Linked DNA regions of Homo sapiens: region 2 is linked to region 1. The links are contacts of gene promoters, found by promoter capture Hi-C in human tissues and cell types (Jung and others, 2019). All regions are on one chromosome and are shown on one strand. Each heading gives the region's core, a stretch centred on a gene start or on the middle of the fragment in contact. The rest is flanking DNA. Distances are from core to core; before and after follow the strand shown. Region 1 holds the start of TRAF4 (TNF receptor associated factor 4). Region 2 holds the start of NUFIP2 (nuclear FMR1 interacting protein 2).

Region 1 (3,309 bases), core at 521-3,020:
CTTGTACCGTGGCGGGTGAGGAGCAGGGACCACCCAACCACCTCTCTCCCCTTCAGAAGCCTCAGCAGCACAGCTCAGGCACTGGGGGATGGGGGACAGGCAGGGCAGAGGCTGCTCCAGGCTGTGCAGTGGAGGCCAAGGCCCAGGGAAGAAGACAGGATGGGGGGAGGGGGTGTGGGAGTGGGAGAGGAAGAGGGGATTTCCGGGAGGGGGAGTGGCAGAGAGGGGGGCCAAGAAGGTGGTGGAAGGAATCCGGCCTGACGGCCCCCTCCCCCGCTCCTTTCCCGAGGCAGTCAGGGTGGGTCAGCTGTGGGGGGGTCGGGGGGCTCAGCTGGCCTCATCTGGAACCCAGAGGGCCGGGGAAGAGCAGTGGCGGAGACAATGGGGCTGTGTCTGTAGGAGAGTAAATGTGTACACTGCCGAGGGGGAGGGGGCAGTCCTGCAGCTTGTGCCGGAGCATATGTGAGGGCAGGAGCCGGCCCAGGCTGTGGGGAACAGAAAACAAAGGGCCTGCTGAGATTTCCGCCAGTAGGAGCTACGGAGGACCGAGCGAGGGAGGGAGGCACGGCGGGAGGGAGCACCGGAGGCAGGCGTCTCAGAGGTACTATCCCTGCCAGGCCCTCGATCCCCTCGTCCCAGCAAACAGCCAGGCAGTGGCCGACTCGGCCTTCCCCTGCGCTCTGGGGGCATGACCTCCGAAGAGTCGGGGCTCCTTCACCCTGCTTCCCACACCCGGGCCTGAGGGGTTCCCTGCGTGAGCAGGAGATTCAAGACATACAGGGCGCCCAGAAACTTGATGGATGCCCAAGAGCCAAGGGCTAACCTGCGTCCTGAGAGGGCAGCGGGAGTTCAGTAACAACACGAGTGCGACCCCCTTCTTCATGACTTATGGACCACCCGCCTTACTCCAGCCCCCGGGAGAGAGGGGAGCCGCCTAGAGGGGTCCTTCTTCGGGGGAGGATTCAGTCCTTCCTCCATTGTGTGATCATAAGCAGTCCGGGTTTAAATCCTAGTTAAGCCTTTAAGTAACTATGTGACCCTGGGCAAGTCGCAGCCTTTCTTTGAATCTCGTTTCATGATCTGTGAAATGGGAGAACAATAGCTACCGTTCTCTGAACGTTCGAAGAATCAGAAGAGGTTAGATGGGGGAAAGCTCCGGAGGCTCAAACTGCCACGCGGGAGCGGGTTTTGTCCTCTTCCCCCAGGATTCAAAGTTCAAGGCTGAGGCCGCGCCGGCTCTCAGGTGACGGGGAAGGGCCTCTTCCCCTCCTGACCCCACGAGAAGGCGCCGAGGTCTTCCGCCCCGGGCCGGGCAGTTGGGACCCGCCCGGACCCCTCGGATTCCTGCGGGGGGGGCCTCCCTCGGGGCTTGACGTCATCCCTCCCCGTGACGTCACGGGGCGCCCCTGAGGTCACAGGGTCGCAGCGCAGACAAAGGCCCGCCTTGCCCCGGGCCCGAGACCCTCCCCAGGCGGCGCCCCCCGCCCCGCCCCGCCCCCGCTGTCCCCTGCTCCCCGGCCAGCACCTGAGGAACTCCTGCAGGCAGGTATCGCAGAAACGGTGGCCGCAGGTGGAAACCTGCACAGGCTCGCGCATGGGCTTCCCGCACAGTGGGCACAGCAGCCGTCGCTTGGGCTTCTCCAGGAACTTGTAGTCGAAGCCAGGCATGGCGGGCGAGCGGCCGGCACGGGCGAGCGGGGCCAGGCACGCGGCGGCCCCACAGCCCGCGCCTCGCTGGAGCGGCGCTCCCGGCTCCGGGCGGCGCCGACTGGCGGTCGCGGCCAGGGCTCGGCTGTGAAGCCCGCCCTCCGGAAGAGAGGGCGGACCGCGGCCGCGCGGTCCTAATGCGCGCCCTCGCGGCCCCGCCCACCCCCGAGTGCATGGTTTTTGGGTCTGGTGACCGCCAGTCTCGCCCACCCACGGGATCATGGGCTTTTCTTTCCCCTGGGGGACAGAGATCGTGGCTCCGCTTCTCCCCAGAGCCCGCGGGCCCCGGGGAAGTGCGGGTCGGAAAAGGGGACGGGCCGCGCCACAAAGGTTTTCTTCTCCAGAGGCAACAGCTCGGCCTCCGGGGCCGTGAGCAGCCCAGGAACCGTGGCCCCAGCTTCCAGGTGCTAGGCAGCCGAAGCCTGGCAACCAGCTCCGGGGAGCCCAGCTGGGGCGGGGAGGCTGGACTGGGCGCTGGGCCAGAGGAACCTCGGCCCCAGCCTCCGGCTGCGCCCACATTCCTCCCTTGGCCGCAGCCCTGCCACCGAGGTCGGGCCCAGCCCAGTCCTGGGGTGCCTGGTCGCCACCCCCACCCTTGAAGACACCACACTCCAGGCAGGCAGCTGATATTTTTATTGGCCTTCCTGTCCTCTGGGAAACCGGTCTGGTCCCACCAGCTACCCATTCTCTCAACTGTTTCTGGGGAAAGGCATGGGGGGGACGGGCAATCTCCAGCGCGGATCTTTTCTGCAGCACTTAGTGACTCCTGCCCTCCTGCTGGGGAAGAGAGGCAAGCCGACGTCTAGCAAATCCTGCCTCAGGATGAAAGTGTAGGGGAGGTGGCAGCACTCCCGGGGACCGCCCAGCCCCGGGCTATGCAGAAGCTAGGCAGGCCTAATGGCCAGTCCAGGCAGGCCCTGGCTTGCCCTGCTCCAAAGTATGGAGATAGAGTCCCGGTAAGCACCAAATACTTTTTTTTTTTTTTTTTTTTTTTTTTTTTTGAGAGGGAGACTTGCTCTGTCATCCAGGCTGGAGTGCAGTGGTGCGATCTCGGCTCACTGCAAACTTCACCTCCCGGGTTCAAGGGATTCTCTTGCCTTAGCCTCCAGAGTAGCTGGGATTACAGGCGCCCGTCACCATGCCTGGTTAATTTTTGTATTTTTAGTAGAGACGGGGTTTCACCATGTTGGCCAGGCTGGCCTCAGTCTACTGACCTCAAGTGATCCGCCCGCCTTGGCCTCCCAAAGTGCTGGAATTACAGGCGTGAGCCACCGCACCCAGCCTTATTTTCTTCTTTTTTTTTTTTTTTGGTGGAGACAGCGGTCTCGCTATGGTCCCCAGGCTGGTCTCCCAACTCCTGGCCACAAGGGATCAAGGGATCCTCCTGGCCAAAGCACTGCCTATGCAGGTGTGAGCCACCGCCGCCGGCCCAGACTTATTTTCTAACTGGGCTAGGGGAAAGGGTAGGGTCTGTGTGGAGCTACAGCTGCCTTCAGCCTTTTTTGTTTTTTTTTTTTTTTTGAGACGGAGTCTGGTTCTGTCGCCCAGGCTGGAGGGGTTTACGCCATTCTCCTGCCTCAGCCTCCTGAGCAGCTGGGACTA
Region 2 (3,309 bases), core at 325-2,824, 550 kb before region 1:
ACATTGAGGAAACAGTCCATATGTCCGTTGCTGAGTGAATGAACAAAATGTGGTATATACATATAATGGAATATTAGTCAGCCTTAAAAAAGAGGGAAATTCTGATGTATGCTACTCTGAAGACATTATGCAAAAAAGCTAGTCACAAAAAGACAAATACAGTACAATCCCACTTATATGAGGTACCTAGAATAGTCAAGTTCGTAGAGACAGAAAACAGAACAGTGGTTATCAAGGGATGGAAGGAGGAGGGAAAGGACATTTATTTTTATTGGGTATGAAGTTTCAGTTTGGAATGATGAAAAAGTTCTGGAGATAGATGATGGTCATGGTTCTACAACAATACGAATGTACCTAATGCACCTGAACCATACACTTAATATTAAGATGGTAAATTTTATATTATGAATATTTTACAATTAAAAAAATCCCCCAATCTATAACATACATTGGGAAAAGTGCATTTTATCTGTATATTCAGTTTAACAAATAATTACTAAGCAAATATATGTAATCACCACCTAGCCCCCAAAATGAAATATTATCAGAGTAACCTGTGTCCCTCCCCATCACAACCCTCTTCCTTCCTGAGTAACCACTATCATGGCTCTAACATTTGCTTTTGAAAATCATATACTGTGATGTGGTAATGCAGGATAAGTTAAATCTACACTACAAAACGCTACAGAATATTTCTTTTAATTTCAATTTTTCCATAAGTGCCAAAAAAAAAAAAAACAAACCCACTTAATAACTTTTAAGTGCTCTTTCTCCCCTTCCTTTGCTCTTGAAACTTCTCATTCTAAAACCTATTTTGGTTCCACAGTTGACCTCACCTGCAGAGTTTAATTAAAAAAAAAAAAACCTTCAGTGTAAATTTTCATTCCTCCTGCTCTCCCTTGCCTCCAACTACAAAGAAACAATGATTTAAACCCTTTGTGCCCTTTTAGAAAATTACACAGATACCCCATTGTGGAACCCTATAATCCCTTCGTGGAAAGGAAGAGATTAGCATATGAATACAAAGCAAAATGAATCCAGAATACAAAATGATCTACTGGATTGTGAAGCTCTTGTATGCTTAAAAATGTATTTATTTCCTCTTTTTGTATTGCCCCTTTAGTGGTCTCGGGGTTAAGGGAATTGAGCTTCCCTTTCTGGTTACCCGGAAAAGGATTAAAAACAAAACAAAACAAAAAACAAAAAAACACCAGATTCTAAGAGGTGCAAAGCCAGCAGATGGCTCACAGCACCAGTGGAATCGCCAGTGGAATCTGCTACCCTCGACACGAGCCTGCTTGCCGGCGAGGAGTGTAGAAAGTGCTGTTCACAGACTGCGTGGTGAAGGAGAGAAAGCGACAGAAGAGAGAGCCATAGTGCTGACGTTGAAGGCCCGGCCCTGTGAGGTTGCACAGGGTAAGTGGCGTTGGCCAGGCGGCAGCGGCGAAGGGGAAGGAAAGAGGATTTGAGCTGGGGGCGGGGCTTGCGGCACAGCGTGGCTCCTGATTGTTGGAGTGCGGCTGCCAATCTCGCAGAATCGCTCGGTTAACCAGTGCGCTGGCGAGACGCGCTCAGATATACTGAGTGAGCCCTGAGAAGCAGTCTCAGATCCTGACGGTGCAGCAGCCCGCAGCCTCAGCCAGGGAGTCCCAGCCGCTTTCAATGGAGGAGAAGCCCGGCCAGCCACAGCCTCAGCACCATCACAGCCACCACCATCCGCACCATCACCCTCAGCAGCAGCAGCAGCAGCCGCACCACCACCACCATTATTATTTCTACAACCACAGCCACAACCACCACCACCACCATCATCACCAGCAGCCTCACCAATACCTGCAGCATGGAGCCGAGGGCAGCCCCAAGGCCCAGCCAAAGCCGCTGAAACATGAGCAGAAACACACCCTCCAGCAGCACCAGGAAACGCCGAAGAAGAAAACAGGTCTGGGAGGGAGGACGGGTGGGGGAAGGGGGTTGGGGGTGGAGGACAGGAGAGATGGGGGTGGGGCTGGATCCGAAAAGCGCGGACGGGGTCGGGGTGTGTGTGTGTGTGTCCCCTCCGGCTCTGGGGATGCCCCTTTCATTCTAGAGCTCGGGCTGAGCAATGGGGTTTGCAGCGCCCTCTCCTTCCCTCCAGCATGGGAGAGGCCCAGCCAGGCCAGCGTGACCTTCCTGGCCCCGGCCCCGGCTGAAGGGAGACCTGCTGGGTCGGCCTTGCAAGTCCAACCTCATTATTCTTTTCCCATTCACCTCCCTGCGTCCCTGGAGTTACCTCAATTTGGGGGCCCTGAGATGGGGTAAACCTACCCCCCCAAAAAATCCCTCGAGGTGTAACTCAGGAAGGCCTAGCGAATCCCGACTCGGATGGTGTCGCGAGACCCTTTTGCAGGCGGCGAGGAGTGGGTAGGTAGGGTGAGTTGAGGAAGTGCCCCTCACCCGCCACCCCAAGCCCACCTGTGGCCTTGGGGCTCCCCGTCTCGGTGGGGGGGGCTGTTGGGACCCCTCATCTCACGGGTCATTTCCACCACTAAACGCCCTTTTTGGGCGCCGGACCCCGCAGTCTTGTCCCGCGGCTCCTCCCGAGGCCGGCGCCCCGCGCCCGCTCCCCCCAGAGCCGGCGCGGCTGGAATGTTCTCTCCTCCTCGCGGGGCCGCTTCCTGTCCGCCATGTTGGAAGCCGATTCCTGTCACCGACTCCGGCCCACTGAGGAGCGGAGGGGGAAGGGTGTCGAGGGCCACACGGGGCGGCGGAGCCGGGTGACCCGGGATCACCACCGGCCGCAGCCTCGCCCCCTGCACTGCGGGGGCGCCGGCGCCCCCCGCACCGCGGCCGCCCCCCCCCCCGTCGCCGGCCGGGGTTGTGTAACCCGGTGGCGGCGCGCGGCCCCGGGCGGGTCCCTGGGGTGAGGGGCGGGGGCGGTTGGGGTGGGGGAGGGAAGCGGCCACGAGGGGAGCGGCCTGCGCAGGGCCCCGCGCGCCAGCGGCCGCGTTTCCCGCTCCCGGGTGCGGCGGGAGGCGCGGGCAGTCGGGGCGGGGAGCCGGCCTCGAAGCGGAGCTGAGAGGGAAGGAGGCCGCGGGCGGCGGCCGCGGCGCTCCTAGAGGCAGGAGGCCTGGGGGGGCGGCGGGGGGATTCATTTCGGGTAGAGGCGGTGCCTGAGGCCGGGTGGGGTACCCAGCGGGAACCCAGCTCCCCGGTCACGAGTTTCTCTGCCACAGGAACCTCGTCTCCTGCCAGGTTCGCTCACGACTCCGCCTCTGAGGCTTTCACTTGGGCCTTTTCCTTCTAGCAGCTCATTTTCTACAAAAAAAAAAA

The links. Contacts are between HindIII fragments. The study calls those that stand out against the background at their distance.
Region 2: the fragment with the promoter of NUFIP2 here is called in contact with the fragment with the promoter of TRAF4 in region 1 in 1 of the 25 tissues and cell types used here (dorsolateral prefrontal cortex).

The regions. Positions count from the first base shown.
Region 1 is chr17:28,742,472-28,745,780 of GRCh38, reverse strand. It overlaps TRAF4 (TNF receptor associated factor 4), which reads right to left and starts at 1,770. Exons shown (of 7, transcript NM_004295.4): 1 at 1,526-1,770. The coding sequence starts at 1,668. NEK8 (NIMA related kinase 8) reads right to left here. Exons shown (of 15, transcript NM_178170.3): 15 at 2,326-3,309. RefSeq lists silencers at 1,292-1,491, 1,512-1,921, 2,376-2,670 and enhancers at 2,376-2,670, 1,694-2,694. The HindIII fragment of the contact is 18,595 bases long and covers 1-3,309 here.
Region 2 is chr17:29,292,413-29,295,721 of GRCh38, reverse strand. It overlaps NUFIP2 (nuclear FMR1 interacting protein 2), which reads left to right and starts at 1,574. Exons shown (of 4, transcript NM_020772.3): 1 at 1,574-1,939. The coding sequence starts at 1,663. RefSeq lists enhancers at 1,206-1,405, 1,716-1,815, 1,509-2,269 and silencers at 1,976-2,095, 2,726-2,905. The HindIII fragment of the contact is 16,686 bases long and covers 1-3,309 here.